7 separate regions of the Homo sapiens genome follow, and regions 1, 2, 3, 4, 5 and 6 are each linked to region 7. Evidence: promoter capture Hi-C in human tissues and cell types (Jung and others, 2019). All regions are on one chromosome and are shown on one strand. The core of a region is centred on a gene start or on the middle of the fragment in contact, and the rest is flanking DNA. Distances in the headings are between cores, read along the strand shown.

Region 1 (2,700 bases), core at 146-2,645, 790 kb before region 7:
GGGGTTGTGGGGACAAGGAGAAGGGTTCCTTTAAAAAAATAAAAATTACTAGGGGAGATTTCAGTTCAGTCTCAAATGGAAAGGAACAAAGTGATGGCATTCTCATCTATATACACCAAACACTCTCCCATTAAACTACACACAATTTCAAAAGAATCCATGATCGAGCTCTTACAAAGCTTAATCCTTCTCCCATATTTTTAAGATAATGAATTTACCTGTTGCTGCTAAATTGATAATTTTTAAAAAATATTTCTATGTGTTTTAAAATGTGTGATCCCCAGTATGACAATAATGTTTGGAGACTTTTCTTTTTACATTTTTTTAAGTAAAAATTGTTTAAACTTTCTGAAGTTTCAGGAACTTGTAAAAGTTTATTAACAGGAAAGAAACAGCCATCTCTCTAGGATAAGATATGGTTAAATAAACCATCTTCAAAAAACTGGCTTCCTACCCTAGAATTCCTGAGAATGCTTGCAAATTTTAAAGCAGGAAAACAAATGTTAAAAACAGAAACAAAAAACACTGTTAAATGCTCCCAGAGTTAGTCTTCATCTAAAATATATATTTATATGTATATATATACGCACTTTTTGGTCTTTTTTTTTTAAAGTTTTTAGTTTTTTTCCCTTTAAGCTTATGATGGAAGAACATTTTAGCTTCTCATGTTTATTTTTACATATTTCAAATCCCTCATTATGTCTTGTAAACAAGAGGGGCTCTAGCACCCGGCTTTCACCGTAGTATCGTAAGGAACTCAACTAACCCATAGTGCAGGTCAAGGAACCAACAGGCAGGAGGAGAGGAGGGTGGGGCAGGACACAGCAGTGAACCAAGAGCGGCAGTGGACAGGGTCGCCACTGGCTCGCAGGAGCCTTGGGATATGCTCCTGGCCCAGGGACACTAAGATTTAACCTTCTCTAGATGTCTGAATACAAGCTGCTCTTCACCTGGTGGTCACCGCACGACAGCACTTTGCTCCACACAGAGAGCGGTCAGTGGGGGCTGCTGGAAGCAGAGCTTTTGCATGGGGAACAGTGGTGGAAGGGGCACGGTGGTGATTCAAATTGCAGAGCAGGAAGAGGGCATGCTCAAGGCACCCAGCGGGGCCACGTCAATGCTGCAGATGCCAAGTGTGACCACCTACCCACAGAGGGCTCATGCAGGCTTGTATATGTGAACACTCACTTGAGTCATGCCTGTCAATCTCTTTTGAGGCTAGGTTTATAATCAACAGGGTAAGCCAGAAGGGCTACAGAATTTCCCATTCTTTGTCTCACAAAACCACTGAAATGCAAATAACTTGTTTTAGGCTTTTCCTATACACACCCACCCACCCACCTACACACAGACACAAGCTAAAAAGTCAAATACATTAGGCATTGTTGTATTGTATCCTTCACTGAAGACGCTAAAGAAAGAAAAACTCCCTTGTCCTCAATAGCAGCAAGTTACAGAGGACAGTAGAGGTCTGCTCCCACCAAGGGTTGGAATGGGCAGGTATTTGCTGGTACAAAATGTCGGCACTTTATGTTAAACAGCATAATGCAGACTGGGATGTCCACACAAGTGCTAGCACGTCACCGGCATCCATCCCCCCACCCTATCTGGTTTTTCGCCCCCTTCAGGTCTGCTATAATTCTCTTCACAATAAGCAGTTTGATACATTTTGATTCCGACATAAGTACATACATGTTGGTGATAACTGTAGATTAAACGTTGACCCCTGTTCGGCCCAGAGTACTACTACATTGATGCTTAAAAAAAAAAAAAAGTATTTAAATACCGAAATTAAAAAAGCAAAATTACAAGGTGGGGGGAAGAGGTCAAAAATCAAAAAAAGGTGCAATACTTAAAAGTCTTCGCTAAGTTATACCTGCCTAAGCAAAACCACATACACAGGAAATACACAACACAGAGAAACAAAAGGAAACGCTTGAAGTACACACTGGTTTAAGAACATTCGTTAAGTAAACGTTTCTGTCAGTGATGGCCTGGTGCTGTAACGCGCCACGGCCTGGCACAGGTAACGCTCGGCGAGAAAGGAGCAGAGGGAGTAGCTGCAGATGCTTTCAGGAGGCTGCTCACCACTTATTCTTTTCTGTTTTCATAAAATGAAAAAGAGAACCAACCAACAGAAATATGTAACTCAACTTCACCTAATTTTTTGAAGAATTTCTCAAACCTGATCATAAGGAAAGAGGGAACAAAGTTTCTCTGTTTTTGAGACATCGCATCATCAAAAGTTATCTTCCGTTCCCATTTCAAACTAACGAAAAGGCCTGCATGAAACTTAACAGATACTCAGATGTGCCTGGTGGCCATTCACTTAAAAAAAAAAAAAAACAGAAATAAACACACCGTTGCTCCAAGAGGTACCTCCTGCTCTAGTTTTTTGGACTTGGCAGTGCTCCACTCTACTGCTAGGTCAAAAGAACAGCCAGAGAAACCCCACATTCAGGCTAAGTTGCAAATGGAAAGGAGCTCCCTGCTTTCATCATTAAAAAGCACTCTGTTCATCTTAATGCAGCCCAATGGAGTTGCTTTAGTAGCAGTGGCTCTCCGGGCCTGTGTGTTCTCATAGTTAAAAAAATAAAATAAAAAGCAGATGGGCCGGCCAGCCAGCCTGCAGACTGTCAGCGATGCAGCTTTCTGAGAAGTCAGGGTGGGGCAGGGGAGAAGGGAAGAACACAGGCACAC
Region 2 (2,700 bases), core at 89-2,588, 720 kb before region 7:
AAATCCAGAAAAAGGAGCTGGGAGTCAGTTCAGACATCCTTCCAGAGACTGTGGCCATATGTCCAGCTATAATTTACATGACCACCATTAGGAAGAATAGTAAAACTTAAAAAAAAAAAAAAAAAAGCATTCCACTCATTATACGATGAGGTCCCACTGAGAATGCTACTTGCATTTTGAATGCTATGACTAGAGAAAAATCACATGAATGTGGCCCAGAAACTAAATTAGCCATAGACACAAAAAGATTCCCCTATGAGTATAGACACAAACACTTGATCTGAAATCTAAAAGCAAAACCTCAGGGACTCATCATCAGAGGCATCAGACGTCATGGTCGGAAAGCAGGATTCAAAACCAAACCTTGTCACTTTCTGGCTATGAGACCCCCAGTTTTCTATTATCTATTGAATGGAGATAATAATAGTATAAACCCTGCAAAGGACTGCTGTAAGGATTAAATCAGATATGCTATGCAGTGCTCAATAAATGTTTGCTGTTATTATCAACACTTATATAAAATAGCATGAAGTACAGCAGTAAGATTGAAATATGTAAATTTTGGACAAATCAAGGGTGCTTTGTTAAAAAAAAAAGAAAGTATTTCTTTATATAGTAACTAATACGTCTATGGAAATGATTAACCTAGAAGGCTGGACAGGCTGAACATAGTAATGGACTTCAGAGAGTTTGGAAATGATGATTAGGAGCCTTACAGAAAACTGCTTCTGATATTTTTAAGAGGGGAAAATAAAGGAGGGCATCTAATTTATAACAATAAAACCACAAAGGTGATGCACAAGCAAAACATCCAAAAGGAACTAAGCCATTGTTCCAATAGTGGTTACACTAAATTTTTGAGATTGTGGGTGATTCTGACCCATTTTCCCAACTGTTAATCTTTTAAAGCATTTTTACTTGGTTATCTGACTTTTGTAATAAAAATATTCATATAGCAAAGAAGAAGTCTGATGATTTGTGGCTGGTAATCGTACTGGATTACGGCCATGGGGGTTCACAAAAACACAATCATCCCTGGAAGGAAGGTCCTGTAGCTGACCAGCCCACCTCGCAATGGATCCCAGCACACCATCAGACTCTAAATAAGAGTTAAAGGATCCGCCTGTAGAACTTCCTGGTGTGTTTCCTACATTCCTGTGTTAAATGACAAGCTAATTCTATTACAGTGAATTTGTGGAATCCAGCATCTTAAAAATGAATGTTTCCCAGTACTGTTACAGAGCTCAATTCTACTGAAAATATTCTTGTGTAATTTTTCTACATCTTTACTTATCCAAGAATGAATGACAATGCAGCCACATACCAATTCCCGAAGGCAATTTAGGTTTTATATCATTGTAACTATTTCTTAGAATGCCATTTTGAAGATCAGTTATACAGGAAGTCAGTGCCTTCCCATTGTAAGCAACAAGCCCAAATAATGTCAAATATGTTTTATCATGTGGGTTCTGTTAAAAGCTGTCCCCCAGACGGCGAGAAGCTGGATGATCAAAGCATGTGTTCTGCCAACGCTAAACAATGCTCCTTTAGCAGCATCAGCCTAAATGAATGTGAATGGAACCCTTCTTTGACACCTCTCTCATGAATGGGTATCTACCAGTTTACTCAGTGATGGCTCCAGGAAGAGCCAACTGCTACAACCAATGAACACTGGAAAAGGCTCATGCTTAATTTCTGTGTGGAGGTAATTTAGTTTTAGCTTTAAGTAAGTGTCAATTCTTCAAGAAAATTATGTTTCCACCTTCATTCTTGACCATTCACTTATTAAACAATTTCTGAGTGATTATCCTGCACCAGGCACTGCCCTAGTTACTGGCCATACAAATACGAATAAAACCAAGAAACTTACAGTCAGTCTAACAGTGAAGATGGACACAAAGAGGTGGTCAAAAAGCACTGGGGAAAGCAGCATGAGAGATGTGGAAGCCCTTAGAAGAGGCACCACAAATGTTTGCGGACCGAATGAATGAACCACTGACCACATGATAGATCTCTGGCACGTTCTCCACGATTCTTTGCATCATAGCACATTTTATGGCTCCTAGCTGAGGTGATGTCTCTACAATAAGGTTGGAAACCACGAAGATAATCACATGGTAAGCTTTGTGCTCTCCTTAAAACTGCTAAATCAGAATTTAATTCTGAAATTATGCAATGGTTCAGTATAATAAAACAAGATCAAAGGCCACGCATCAGCCTGCGTCAGCCTAGATTCTATGTCAAGCTGATCTGGAACATTTTTGAGCAAAAACGATAGAATTTTTATTGTTCATAAAATTAATCACTTAAAAATTTTATTTACGGTAATTTTCCCCTTTGCTATCACTTCTTCATCAGTTCTTAATGCAGATGAAGGCACATAGGAGAGACTGTCCAGCTACATAAACTACATTCTCTGCATAAATAATCTCATTCACTCTCAAGTACATTCACACCATCTTTATTTTAAATCATTTTTCTTTGTGGAATCCAATCAAAGGCATATTACAGAGGCATATTTTATTAATCATTTTAGGTATTGATATTTGTAGTTTAAGAAAACACTGTTATGTATGTTAAAAATGAAGAGGAATATATACTCTCTAAATCACTCTGTTTGGCATCCTCTTGTTAACAGCCTTTGCTCAAGTACCTTGGTACCCAGCCTATTAATCACTCATCTCCATAGACTGCAAAATC
Region 3 (2,700 bases), core at 134-2,633, 770 kb before region 7:
TCTCCTGCCTCAGCCTCCTGAGTAGCTGGGACTACAGGCACACCACAGCCATGCCCAGCTAATTTTTTGTATTTTTAGTAGAGACGGGGTTTCACCCTATTGCCAAGGCTGGTCTAGAACTCCTGAGCTCAGGCAATCTGCCCACCTCTGCCTCCCAAAGTGCTGGGATTACAGGCATGAGCCACCGTGCCTGGCCTTATTTATTTATTTTTTTTAAAGAAGAGTTTGAGGCATTTTTAAATTTCTTTCATCCTGGGTAGCAGAAATGAAATTAGATTGCAGGGCAGGAAGGTTGCAAGGAACAAAGGTTTTCTCTGACATAGCCTTAATGGCCTAAGCAGGTTGCTCCTTGAGTAAATTACACTTCTGCCTTTGAGAAAACCAGGCCAAGGTGCTTGGATTCCAGGCCACCTGAAAGCTCAGTTCTAATCATTGAGAAAGAGTTTTTGGAAATAACCTAGGATTCTGGCAAAGATTAAAAAGAATACTAGCATTACTAAGAAGAGGAGGAACCATTCCTTACACATTAATTTTCTTTGAAGTTACTCTAAAATTTCTATAAAACCCATAGTGAATTAAATTTCTTTTTTTCTTTCTTTTCTTTTTTTGAGACGGAGTCTCGCTCTGTCGCCCAGGCTGGAGTGCAGCGGCACAATCTTGGCTCACTGCAACCTTCGCCTCTGGGTTCAAGCGATTTTCCTGCCTTAGCCTCCCGAGCAGCTGGGACTACAGGTGCCTGCCACCACACTCGCTGATTTTTTTTGTATTTTTAGTAGAGACGGGGTTTCATCGTGTTAGCCAGGATGGTCTCAATCTCCTGACCTTGTGAGCCGCCCGCCTCGGTCTCTCAAAGTGCTGGGATTACAGGTGTGAGCCACCGCGCCCAGCCAGTGAATTAAATTTCTTTAATTTCAGCTGCTTAGAGCTTTTTTGGTGACAAATGAAATGCAGAAAATTAAAGTTATAGCAAAAGGGCAAAGAAAGAAAAAAGCGAAAAAAGAGAAACATAAGAGGAAAGAAGGAAAGAAAATGAATGAGAGAAAGAAAGAGAAAGAGAAAGAAAAAGTAAGCAAGCAAGGAAAGGCAAGAACCTTAGAGAAAGCGGGCACTTTTCTCATTAGAGACTTGGGGATCAAATGCCACCACAGTAGGGCAGTCCCAGCGCTGCCTCACAAGGTTTGGTCAGGAAAAATAATCCAAGGGGTAAGAGAAAGAATAGGTGAGAAAATTGCCTTGAAAGGTTCAATCTACAAACCCCAAAGTATGAGAGGAAAAATCAGGCGAAGACGGACATAATTTTCTTTGATGTCACGTAGTAACCAGCCTGACGCTAGGATATGGAATGTGTCTGATGCATTTTGATGGAAGGAATTCTGGGACACTGTGCTCTAGTGGGTGCACTAACAAAGAAGAGATGGTGCTTCGCTAGTGACCTTCGGCTATTTACAAGCTGTCGTATCTCTAAACCCAAGAAAATACTGACTGTATTGTACTTTCCACTACAGCAAAACAAAATTTCCTTAGTCCACCAAGTGGTTTCCCTGAAATTTCTCACCAACACAGAGCTTTAGCTCAAATTAAGCCATTTAGTTCAGTTCAATGAATATTTATGGACAGTGTAATCTGTGCCAGGCCCTGTGTTAGGAGCTGAGGTACAAGTAGAGGTAAGACATGCCCCTTGCCTGTCACCTGCTTTTATCATTCATGCAAGGACAACCCTTTGCCTGCCTCATGCGTCTTTGCTAGAATTACTCTCTCTCATTCTCCACACACCCTAATTCATGGTCTGTTCACGACTTTTGGCTCCATTCTTACATCCTTGAGGAAATGCTCTTAAATTAACTTGTCCTTACACTGATCCTGCCTTCACTCTCTCTGTTTACAGTTCTGTTTTCTGCTCCTCTTTTTGCTATACATTAAAAAACAAACTAGTTTCTATAATTATTTTTAAAAAATCACCCATAATTGGCCATCCTAACACAACTGTTCTAAGTCCGTGTCCACATGTACACTTGGTATCGACACAATCATAATTGCAGCATAGATACAATTACTCTTCTGTCATTTTTATAATCTCCAATATTTATTCAGCTTTACTTTTCACAGGGATATACCAAATAAATATTACAAATTTTGATAAATTTTAAACATAAAAAGTGAAATTTTATCAGAAATGCATTTTCTAAGAAGATGAATTACTTTGTTTCTAAATGAGTTCAGATATCCACGGTAACCAACACTCCTTACTATAATGAGAATTTTCGCTACCATCTTATTTTAAATTTCTTTGTTGACATAAAGCACTAAGAAATTTGACTCATATAAATAAGTAGATGGGAACAGAAGGAGTCTTGTTATAACTTACTTCTCGAATTTCTTTTAAAGTATATGTTCCTTCCCCTAGCCCAGTAACACAGATACTAAAATATAATTTTTAGATAGGTCATTATCACCTAACAATTCAATTAGGTATTCTTTCTCTCTGTCTCCCTCTCCCTCTCACTCTTCACCTTGGCCTCCCAAAGTGCTGGGATTACCAGGCATGAGCCACGCACTCAACCTCAATTAGGTATATTTTCAATTTTGCTAAAAGGACAGAATTAGAAACCATCTGTTTTACAAAAGAATCAGTAAGGATTAGTTAAGCAGTCATTAGTCATTCAAATTCTTAATTTTGAGATAATGTAACAAAGAGGCTTT
Region 4 (2,700 bases), core at 52-2,551, 560 kb before region 7:
AGAGAATCGCTTGAACACGGGAGGCGGAGGTTGCAGTGAGCCAAGATCACACCAATGCGCTCCAGCCTGGGTGACAAAGTGAGATTTCATCTCAAAAAAAAGAAAAAAAAAGTCTATGAAGAAATCAAGTTAACAGGGTTTTATTTAACCTCTTTTATTTTATATTTGTATCTCCTTTCACCCATGTTGGGAATCTGGATCTCAAAACAGTGGAAATTATAAAGTACCACATAATTACTCATTTGTTTTTTTCTGACAATATACACTCAACAACAATCTCAAAATAGTACTAACAAGATCACTGGTATGTTCCACATGAGTACAGTTGAAGGACTTTGTTGTTGTTGCTACTGTTTGTTGCAGTTCTTTTTTCACTCTCAGGGCATATACCCACTAAGAATGTAAAGTTCGAATTAGTGAGGTTTAAAATTTAGGTTTACTTGTTTCTCATTTTCCATTTAAAAAAGCTATCAACCATATTTAAGGCAGTCTAGCTTCTCTCCCTGTCCCCTCTACCCTATTTCCTTCCTCCTTCTCTCATAATTTTTAAGCTTGTATGATTTATTCTTCCATTAAAAAAATATAAATTGGCTGGGCAAGGTGGCTCACACAGGTAATCCCAGCACTTCAGGAGGCCAAGGTGGGTGGATCACCTGAGGTCAGGAGTTAGAGACCAGCCTGACCAACATGGTGAAGCCCCGTCTCTACTAAAACACACACACACACACACACACACACACACACACACACACACACACAAAAGTAGCCGCCGGGCATGGTGGCAGGTGCCTATAATCCCAGCTACTCAGGAGGCTGAGGCAGGAGAATTGCTGGAATCTAGGAGGCGGAGGTTGCAGTAAGCTGAGACTGCACCACTGCACTCCAGCCTGGGCAACAGTGTGAGACTCTGTCTCAAAAACAACAACAACAACAAAGAAAACAAAATAAATAAGTTGCAGATACTGAGATCAAAATATGTAGAAGCTCTTGCATTCATAGTAAGTGGAAGAACAGAGCACAAACACCACTGGGTCTGTAGTCAGAAGGCCCGCTGTCCAGTTCCTGCTTCACCACCTATTAGCTGGCCTTGAGGAACTACCTAATTTTTCAGAGCTTCAGTCTCTTTTCTGTATGATGTGAAAAATAGTAAATATCCACCTTATAAGGTCGCTGTGAGGATGAGACGAGATAGGAAAGTCTTTTAAAGGTACAACTTTTTATGAGTTCATCCTTGGAGTGAAGGTTTCTGAAGATTAGCCAAAAATAATTCCGTTTATTAAAAGTTTCTTTCACTCTTAAGTACAAGGTAAGCAGGAATAATTTTAAAAATATTTCTTTATTAACAAAGGACCCTCGAGAAATAGGAGAGAAAAGCTGAACTCAGAGTTCCCAGCATCTCCCAGGAGGACCAAGAGGTCCTGAAAAGTATTATGTCTGGTCTCTAGTCTGGGTCACCAAACGCTGTACATCTGTAACGGAGATGGAGGCCAACAGCAGCCTCTGTGATGAGGGCCCTGCCTACATCTCCAGCTCCTCTCCTAATTCCCTGCCTCCCTCTCAGTCTCCAGCCTCACTAGCATTCCCAGGTCCCCCAAGGCTTCAAGCTCTTTCCTCCCTCAGGACCTTCACACATAGCTAGCCCCTTTGCTTGAAGGCTCTGGACCCAATGATCACCTGGCCAATGCCTACTTTTCCTTTAAATCTTTGCTTAAATGTTACTTTGTCAGAAAGGCCTTTCTGTCCTCTCAGACTAAGCCAGGCTCCCCCCAGTTAATCACTCTTACAGCTCCCTGTATTTTTCCTAAAATGCACTTACCAGTGTTTGGAATTACATATATAATTGTCTTTCTCCCACTAGAAAATGGTCAGTTTAGCATGTGTGTTTCTTATTTCTTTATTCTCATTTCCTAGTACCATGCCTGGTATTACTCTGGTGCTCAGTATGTGTCAAATGAATAACTGAATTAATGAAAAGCTTAACATATCATGTATAAAATGGCTGAATTAGATCCTGAACACTGGGAAAGAAGGCAGGACCAAGTTGTTACATACTGAAAAAAATTTCTACATTCCAGAGTCTTCCCATAAGGGGGCAATATTCCATTCTCCTCTAACTTGATTCATAATTTAAATATACAATCATTCTAATGATATATTTCCATCTCTTATCTATAATGAGTTTTTATGATAAAAATATCCAGAAACACATTACTTACACCAAACACAAAACTAAGCTTTTCACTACTGATGCAGTATAAGCTGAGGATATATAATAAAGCAAAATTTTCCAAACACAACACCAGGCCCTCCTAAAAATGCCAGGAAGAAGGCTTGTGTCTGTGAGAGGGGAGCCTACAGGGACGGGGGACCTGGAGATAAAAAAAAGACTTAAGAAATACATCAAACAAATGCTATAATGATAATCTTTAAACACTGCCTGGTTTTTATGTAGCTGGAAATATGAAAAGCTTATTAGCATCTCTCTTCACTGGACATGATGAACAAAGTATGGCAGAGAGAGGACAATCAATTTTAAAGGGGAGTTAAGGCTTCATTTTATTTCTATCTAAAACCTTTGTTTTCCTTTTTCTCTAACGACAAACGAAAACACTCCATATTTCATAGAAGAAAAAATTGAATTTCTCTCCATTCAAATTCAAGGTGAAAGAAGACATCTTTTGAACTCTACAGATATTCTGA
Region 5 (2,700 bases), core at 47-2,546, 740 kb before region 7:
ACAGTTTGATGTCAGTGCGTGTCATTTGGAAAGGAGCCTATTTAAACTGGGCATTATAAGGAACTCATAGTGCTTCCTCTGTTTGTTTCACAGCATAAAAGACATTGGTCCTGGTGGTAAAGAGACCTAGTGGAAGACACCATTGCTGATCTCCTGGGCAAAGTAGGGCAGAGGTAGGTTTTAATTTTTTAATGGGACAAACTAGTTTCTCCCCTGAACAAGGCACTGACCATGAGCTCCACTTTCACTTCTGTGAGGGAAGCAGGGGGAACTATGAAGAGGACTGGGTGGGCTGGGGCTTTGTGCAGTTGTGTATTTCACAGGTGAAAATTCTCTATGTTGTGATGATAGCTATCTTTTTTTTTTTTTTTCTCTGTCACCCAGGCTAGAGTGCAGTGGTGCCATCCCAACTCACTGCAAGCTTTGCCTCCCGGGCTCACGCCATTCTCCTGCCTCAGCCTCCCGAGTAGCTGGGACTACAGGCACCCGCCACCATGCCCGGTTAATTTTTTGTATTTTTAGTAGAGATGGGGTTTAACCATGCTAGCCAGGATGGTCTCCATCTCCTCACCTCGTGATCCGCTTGCCTCGGTCTCCCAAAGTGCTGGGATTACAGGTGTGAGCCACCGTGCCCAGCCCGTGATGGTAGTCATCAAATCAATTTTATTATCCTTGAAAGTGACGAAGTACTTAAGTTTAGTACAGGTTTTTTTGGTGTGTGTGTGGGGGGCGGTTTTTTTTTTTGAGACTGAGTTTCGCTCTTGTCACCCAGGCTGGAGTGCAATGGCGCGATCTCGGCTCACTGCAACCTCTACCTCCTGGGTTCAAGCAATTCTCCTGCCTCATCCTCCCAAGTAGCTGGGATTGCAGCTGCCTGCCACCACACCCAGCTAATTTTTGTAGGTTTAGTAGAGACGGGGTTTTGCCATGTTGGCCAGGCTGGTCTTGAACTCTTGACCTCAGGTGATTCACCTGCCTCAGCCTCCCAAAGTGTTGGGATTACAGGCATGAGCCACCGCAGCCAGCTAGTACAGGTTTTAAGGTCAAAAAAGCCCTCACTAGAGGGAGGGGGGAATGGGGAGTTACTGTTTAATAGGTACAGAGTTCAGTTTTGTAAGATAGAAAGAGTTCTGCGGATAGATGGTGGTAAATGGCAACATAAGTATGTGAATATACTTATTGCCACTGAACTGTACACTTAAAAATGTACGCTATGGTAAATTATATGTTATATGTATTTTATCACAATTTTTAAAAAAAACGCCCTCGGTATATAAAGTCAGAATCACTGGTACTGGGGCTGAAAGAGTCAATTCCCAATTAACTTAATTAAATCTTGGTTGTCAACCTAGAGAGGTATTTATTAGTCCCTTTCAATCAGTTAATTTAGTCTCATTGTTAATTTGTAAATAACCAAAAGAAAGCCAAAATCACACTAGACAACCTAAGAGTGCAAGGAATGCTGAAAAGTTTGCTGAATAATTCCTTCTGTGACTGAAGAAATAAAAGCTCTTAATAGAAGAAAACCCGTAAGTGACTGCTTAAGCAAAACATCTCTAAACAGAAACAGACTGTATTCTTATGCTATAAAAGAAAGAGTCATCTACAAAATTAGTGTCCTATAGGCAAAGGGCAAAGGGGATGAAGGCCCAATCCTCAGACATGGGAAGGCCTCTAAGATGGCATCTGGTATTTGAAACGTGGGAGAATATTAGCTGTGAACCGTTTCATAGGGTGCCAAGACTCTCATGTTGAAGTTAAGTATTGGATGCCCATTTCGTATTTCCACTATTTTATTTGTCAAACGAAAATCTGGAATTGAAAAAAGAGAGGGTCTGCGAAGACACTGGTTCAGGCTCAAAGACTACTGTTCTAGATTGAAAACCAAAGTCCTCATCAAACTGTGATGAGGACTTTCACACAGAAGGTGAAAAGTTTAGTACACAACCTGGTACATGATGTAGAGAAATCATCTAGCTGCTAGGCTGGGCGCAGAGGCTCACGCCTGTAATCCCAGCACTTTGGGAGGCCGAGGTGGACGGGATCACGAGGTCAGGAGATCGAGACCATCCTGGCTAACATGGTGAAACCCCATCTCTACTAAAAATACAAAAAATTAGCCGGGCGTGGTGGCAGCTGCCTGTAGTCCCAGCTACTCGGGAGGCTGAGGCAGGAGAATGGTGTGAACCTGGGAGGCAGAGCTTGCAGTGAGCTGAGACTGCACCACTGCAGTCCAGCCTGGGCGACAGAGCAAGACTCCGTCTCAAAAAAAAAAAAAAAAGAGATATCATTAATCATTTAGCTGCTATAGCACACAAGTACTCACTGGTATTTCATTTGTCGGGAGAAGGGTTCTGGGTCTTGGAATTTCCCAAATCAGATAAAATCAAGACGTGCTGATTGCCGCGGGAGAAGCCAGCATTATCTTCCTCTGGATTCCCTCCTACATATCTATGGGGATTTACTGGAAGGACTTCTCTGGCTTTAGAATGCAAAAGCATTTATAAAGTATGCCTTGAGAGCCTCCAAAAGATTATTATAATGTGGAAACTAAAAATGAAAAATATCTCGTATCTTTGAAAACTTCATTTTACCCACAGCAACAGTTTTATAGTTCAAGGTTTCAAGGTCATGGGAAAGCAAGACGAAGGGTAAAAGGGAAGTAGTTATTTGTTTCCAAGAAAATATTTTTCCCCTTAC
Region 6 (2,700 bases), core at 27-2,526, 630 kb before region 7:
CAATAACTGATAACTGGCTGATACAGTTTGGCTGTGTCCCCACACAAATCTCATCTTGAACTGTAGTTCCCATAATCTCCATGTGTTGTGGGAGGGACCCAGTGGGAGGTAACTGAATCATGGGGGTGGTTACTCTCATGCTGTTCTTGTGATAGTGAGTTCTCATGAGATGTGATGGTTATATAAGGAGCTTTCCCCCCCATTGCTCAGCACTTCTCCTTTCTGCCGCCAAGTGAAGAAGGACATGTTTGCTTTCCCTTACGCCATGGTTGTAAGTTCCCTGAGGCCTCCTCAGCCATGTGGATGTGTGAGTCAATTAAACTTCTTTCCTTTATAAATTACCCAGTCTCAGGAAGTTCTTTATTAGCAGCATGAGAATGGACTAATACACTGGCCTATAGGTAGGATGCTTAAGGAGAACGAAGATAAAATCAGGTCTGTTGGAACATATTCAAGAAAGGACTGAATCTAAAGTTGATGACTGGGCATGGTGGCTCATGCCTGTAATCCAAGTACTTTGGGCGGTTGAGGTGGGAGGACTGCTTGAGTCCAGGAGTTCAAAACCAGCCTGGCAACATAGTCAGGCTTTGTCGCTACTAAAAACAAAAAAATTAGCCAGGCATGGTAGTGCGTGCCTGTAGTACTAGCTACTCCAGAGGCTAAAGTGGGAGGATTGCTTGAGTCCAGGAGGTGGAGGCTGCAATAAGCCATGACCATGCCACTGCACTCCAACCTGGGTGACAGCGAGAGACCCTGTCTCAAAAAGAATTTTTTTGGTTGAGGCTTGAGTGAGCCCAAATTGCACCATTGCACTGCTTGGGTGACAAAGTAAGACCCTGTCTCAAAAAAAAAAAAAAAAAGAGCCGGGGGGAGGGGTGGGTGCGGTGGCTCACACCTGTAATCCCAGCACTTTGGGAGGCTGAGGCAGGCGGATCATCTGAGGTCAGGAGTTTGAGACCAGCCTGGCCAACATGCTGAAACCGTGTCTCTACTAAAAATACAAAAATTAGCCAGGCGTGGTGGTGGGTATGTGTAATCCCAGCTACTTGGGAAGCTGAGGCAGGAGAACAGCTTGAACCCTGGAGGCGGAGGTTGCAGTGAGTGAGCCAAGATCGTGTCACTGCACTCCAGCCTGGGCAGAGTGAGACGCTATTTCAGGGAAAAAAAAAAAAAAACTTTTTTTTTTTTTTTTTTGAGACAGAATTTTACTCGTTGCTCAGGCTGGAGTGTAATGGCGCGATCTCGGCTCACCACAACCTCTGCCTCCCAGGTTCAAGCGATTCTCCTGCCTCAGCCTCCTAGTAGCTTGGATTACAGGCATGCACCACCATGCCTGGGCTAATTTTGTATTTGTAGTACAGACCAGGTTTCTCCATGTTGGTCAGGCTGGTCTTGGACTCCTGACCTCAGGTGATCCACCCGCCTTGGCCTCCCAATATGCTGGATTATAGGCATTGAGCCACTGTGCCTGGTCAAAATAAAATTAAAAAAAATTAATTAAAAAAAAATAAAGTGGAACATGACATGTTAACATGTTAACAATGCCCTTTTTTTTTTTTTTTTTTTAAAGGCAGAGTCTCACTCTGTCGCCCAGGCTGGACTGCAGTGGTGTGATGTTTGCTCACTGCAACCTCCGCCTCCCAGGTTCAAGTGATTCTCCTGCCTCAGCCTCCCGAGTAGCTGGGATTACAGGAGCCCACCACCACACCTGGCTAATTTTTTTTTTTTTCTTTTTAGTAGAGATGGGTTTTCACCATGCTGGTCAGGCTGGTCTTGAACTCCTAACCTCAAGTGATCCACCTGCCTCGGCCTCCCAAAGTGCTTCAATGTACCTTTCTTCTGCTGATAACAGATAAAATATTCTGGAATTAGGCTTTATAATAACACCACCTCAGATTTCAAAGTGAGTGTGTAGAAGAGGGATTCTTAACAGTCGATGGGAACTTATTCATTCAACATATATTTATAGATGCTTTTTGTGCCAGGCACCTCTCTAGGCAGTGACCAAGACAACAGAAATCCATCCTCATAGAGCCGAAGATCTAGCATAAAGCTTTAACCTGATCTTTTCTGCCTTGAGCCTCCCCTCCCCTTATTTTATTTATAAAATTAAATAAAATAAAAAAATAAAATAAAATTGTGAAACACATTATCTATTAAAGTTACCCTTTTCTTTTCTTTCTTTTTGTTTTTGAGACAGAGTTTCGCTCTTGTTGCCCAGGCTGGATTGCAATGATGCCATCTTGGCTCACTGCAACCTCCACCTCCCGGGTTCAAGTGATTCTCCTGCCTCAGCCTCCCGAGTAGCTGAGATTACAGGCATGCGCCACCACACCTGGCTAATTTTGTAGTTTTAGTATAGACGGGTTTCTCCATGTTGGCCAGGCTGGTCTTGAACTCCTGACCTCAGGTGATCTGCCCGCCTCGGCCTCCCAAAGTGCTGGGATTACAGGCGTGAGCCACCGTGCCTGGCCTTTTTTTTTTTTTTTTTTTTTTTTGAGACAGGGTCTCATTCTGTCATCTATTAAAATTACTTTTTTTTTTTTTTTTTTTTTTTGAGACAGGGTCTTGTTCTGTCACCCAGGGTAGAGTGCAGTGGTGTGATCTTGGCTCACTGCCACCACTACCTCTCAGGCTCAGGTGATCTTGAGAAGCTGGAACTACCGGCACACAACAACACGCTCAGCTAATTTTTCCATT
Region 7 (2,700 bases), core at 69-2,568:
CCTGGAAGGGTAGGGGGGATAAACAAGTTAACAAATGTAAAGCACGTAGAACAGCACAAATGCTTGAGTTTGTGTTGGTTGTTATTATTACTCTCTAGCCGATGGAGCTTAAACGGTGTGGTCTATCCCGGAGGACGAACTCCAGGTCCCACACTCTGTGGTGTCAAGTACACAGAAGGCCCTCAGAACCCGGCTGAGTGAACCCAGTGGTCCCTTCTGATTCACCGTTCACTTATTGCGTGTCTTCTCCATGCCAGGTGCTGGGCTGCCAGCTGCAGATGGAGCAGCGAACAAGCCCAGGGCTCCTCCCCCAGGTAAGCAGTGTCACTTCTAGGCCAGAGGGGCTCAAATGTTTTGGTCTAAGAAGCTTCTTACATTTAAAACTTCAGAATCCCCTCACTCCTGTAATCCCAGCACTTTGGGAGGCTGAGGTGGGCGGATCACTTGAGGTCCGGAGTTCAAGACCAGCCTGGCCAACATGGCAAAACCCCGTCTCTACTAAAAATTTTTTAAAAAGAAAATTAGCCGGCCGTGGTGGCGGGCGTCTGTAATCTCAGTTACTCGGGAGGCTAAGGCAAAAGAATCGCTTGAACCCGGGAGGCGGAAGTTGCAGTGAGCCGAGATCGCTGCACTCCAGCCTGGGCGACAGAGCGAGATTCCGTCTCAAAAAAAAAATTAATTTAATTAAATAAAATAAATTTTAAAAAATTCAGGATCCCAAAGAACTTTTGTATGTAGGCAACTGATATTTGCCATACTAGAAACTAAAACAAAAATTTTACATATTCATTAATTCACTTAAAATGACAATAAACCCATTGCTTGGTAACATAAACAACGTATTTTATGAGAAATAATTGTAGTTTTCAAAACAAAGATATGTCTTTAATGTCTGGCTTAAGGGAAGACAACTGGATTCTCATGCTGCACTCAACCTGTGCGATACCTAGTGCTGGTTGAAGTATATGAAAAACACTCCGCCCTGTCCCCATCCTAGCCCGCCACGGAGCCACGAGACCCGAGAGGATTGGCCAACCCGGCGGAGCAGGTTGCGGACGGCTTCCGGGGAAGGAGGGGACTGAGCGCCAGGAGCCAGGTAGATTGGGATTGAGTAACACATGTGTCTTTCTGCGCCTTGGACCCGCCTCCAGTTTCCGCCCCTTCTTCCGCTCAAGTGTAAACCCCTAACGCATGCGTCCTAAGAAAGATGGGCACTTCCGCCCATCCCCCTCCGGATCCCTCTGTTCGGGCTCGGGTTTCCGCCGAGACGACAGGGACTGCCAGGTCGGAAGTAGTGTGAGGCTCGTGGGCGGAGCCAAGCGCCGCCATGTCCGCCGCCCTGCTGCGGCGGGGCCTGGAGCTGCTGGCGGCGTCCGAGGGTGAGGAGGGCTGGCCAGGGGACGTCCGGCGCGGGCAGGAGGATGGTAGTGGCTGCGGGCGGGAGCCCTGGATGGAAAACAATCCAGGCCGGGCTTAGCCCCAGTGGCATGGGAACGCTGCGCGCCCTCTGACCTGGGTCTCTTCCTCTCTCTTCCCCTACAGCCCCCCGGGACCCTCCAGGTCAGGCCAAGCCGAGAGGGGCTCCGGTGAAACGGCCCCGGAAGACGAAGGCAATTCAGGCCCAGAAACTGCGGAACTCGGCCAAGGGAAAGGTGCCCAAGTCGGCACTGGGTAAGTTCGGGAAGGGGCTGAAAGTGCTGCCTCCGGTGCTGGGACCTGCGCCCCAGAGGAGGTGGCGCTTGAGGCAGGGCTTGAAGCGTTCGCCCGGTATTGCTAGACCTACTGTGTGCCAGGCGCGGAGCGGGGCCCTGGACATACGAAGGTGACAGAACACGCCACCGTCCTGGTCCTCGTGGACTACGGCCCTAGTGGGGAGAGAAGCATCAAAGAATATCAAACCCAGTGTGTCATTGCTAAGTGCATTGAAGCCTATGAATTAAAAGACTACGGTACTCTGATGGGGACTTAGGCCAAGTCAGCCTTCTCTGAGGAAGCGACATTTCAGCCGAGAGCTGAAGGATGTATAAGAGTGAGCTAGGTGAAAAGTAGGAGAATATTCTAGGAAGAATAGTATGTGCAAAGGTCCTGAGTCAGAAAGGAGGTTGTTGCCTTTGAGAATTTGAAAAAATAAAGGCTGGTAAAGGTGACCTAGTGAATGAGGATCAAAGATGGAGCATTTAAACACATTCACTAACACTCTGTACCAGGTGCTGATTCTAAGTGCTGTACAAATGTAAGCTCGTTTGATCCTTACAGCAGCCCTTTGAGGTCGATACTACTATCACCCCCGTTTTACAGATTCAGAAAAAGGCACCTGCCCAGGTGGTACAGGCATTGTGGCTGCCCGGGCATTGTGTCTCCAGAGTGCTGCTATTACCTACTCCATTGAAATAGGACATGCTGTGGCCTGGGCAGTGGCTATAGCAGCAGAGATAACAAGAGAATTGTGCAGGTGGAAAATATGTTAAAGAGGGGGCAGCAGAGAATTTCAGCCTTTAGAGGGGTTTTAGTGGTGAATTGGCTGTGAAGGTGGAGCCTAGTTTCTTGGGGGACGTAGTGTCACTTAATAGACATAAAGACTTTCGGAGGGGCTGGTGTAGGCAAGATGGTGATATTTTGACATGTGTCAGGACGTGGCAAGCTCTTACTGTGTCTGAATCCCTAGAGTCTAATGCATAAAAGATGTTAAAGTATTTGTTA

Evidence for each region. The method cuts DNA at HindIII sites, captures the fragments that hold promoters and counts their contacts. A contact is called where the count stands out against the background at its distance.
Region 1: a fragment that was not itself captured here is called in contact with the fragment with the promoter of RPS19BP1 in region 7 in 1 of the 25 tissues and cell types used here (dorsolateral prefrontal cortex).
Region 2: a fragment that was not itself captured here is called in contact with the fragment with the promoter of RPS19BP1 in region 7 in 1 of the 25 tissues and cell types used here (lymphoblastoid cells).
Region 3: a contact is called between a fragment that was not itself captured here and the fragment with the promoter of RPS19BP1 in region 7, in 1 of the 25 tissues and cell types used here (lymphoblastoid cells).
Region 4: a fragment that was not itself captured here is called in contact with the fragment with the promoter of RPS19BP1 in region 7 in 2 of the 25 tissues and cell types used here (heart left ventricle and mesenchymal stem cells).
Region 5: a contact is called between a fragment that was not itself captured here and the fragment with the promoter of RPS19BP1 in region 7, in 1 of the 25 tissues and cell types used here (spleen).
Region 6: a contact is called between a fragment that was not itself captured here and the fragment with the promoter of RPS19BP1 in region 7, in 1 of the 25 tissues and cell types used here (dorsolateral prefrontal cortex).

What each region holds. Positions count from the first base shown.
Region 1 is chr22:40,323,937-40,326,636 of GRCh38, reverse strand. TNRC6B (trinucleotide repeat containing adaptor 6B) reads right to left here. Exons shown (of 23, transcript NM_001162501.2): 23 at 1-2,700. Among named protein-coding and RNA genes, the nearest start is that of ADSL, 21 kb to the left of the region's middle. The HindIII fragment of the contact is 3,074 bases long and covers 1-2,700 here.
Region 2 is chr22:40,248,360-40,251,059 of GRCh38, reverse strand. The region is part of intron 2 of TNRC6B (trinucleotide repeat containing adaptor 6B); the gene reads right to left. Among named protein-coding and RNA genes, the nearest start is that of TNRC6B, 72 kb to the right of the region's middle. The HindIII fragment of the contact is 4,738 bases long and covers 1-2,700 here.
Region 3 is chr22:40,304,200-40,306,899 of GRCh38, reverse strand. All of the region lies in intron 15 of TNRC6B (trinucleotide repeat containing adaptor 6B), which reads right to left. Among named protein-coding and RNA genes, the nearest start is that of ADSL, 41 kb to the left of the region's middle. The HindIII fragment of the contact is 3,956 bases long and covers 1-2,700 here.
Region 4 is chr22:40,086,644-40,089,343 of GRCh38, reverse strand. It overlaps a transcript of TNRC6B not described here. Among named protein-coding and RNA genes, the nearest start is that of TNRC6B-DT, 43 kb to the right of the region's middle. The HindIII fragment of the contact is 3,769 bases long and covers 1-2,700 here.
Region 5 is chr22:40,274,004-40,276,703 of GRCh38, reverse strand. The region is part of intron 7 of TNRC6B (trinucleotide repeat containing adaptor 6B); the gene reads right to left. LOC124905121 (a long non-coding RNA gene) reads left to right here. Exons shown (of 2, transcript XR_007068107.1): 1 at 1-173. Among named protein-coding and RNA genes, the nearest start is that of ADSL, 71 kb to the left of the region's middle. The HindIII fragment of the contact is 7,274 bases long and covers 1-2,700 here.
Region 6 is chr22:40,163,255-40,165,954 of GRCh38, reverse strand. It overlaps a transcript of TNRC6B not described here. Among named protein-coding and RNA genes, the nearest start is that of TNRC6B, 13 kb to the left of the region's middle. The HindIII fragment of the contact is 6,155 bases long and covers 1-2,700 here.
Region 7 is chr22:39,531,366-39,534,065 of GRCh38, reverse strand. RPS19BP1 (ribosomal protein S19 binding protein 1) reads left to right here and starts at 1,318. Exons shown (of 4, transcript NM_194326.4): 1 at 1,318-1,379; 2 at 1,543-1,671. The coding sequence starts at 1,328. RefSeq lists enhancers at 1,124-1,173, 1,224-1,283, 1,073-1,588, 1,589-2,104 and silencers at 1,394-1,553, 1,734-1,863. The HindIII fragment of the contact is 6,935 bases long and covers 1-2,700 here.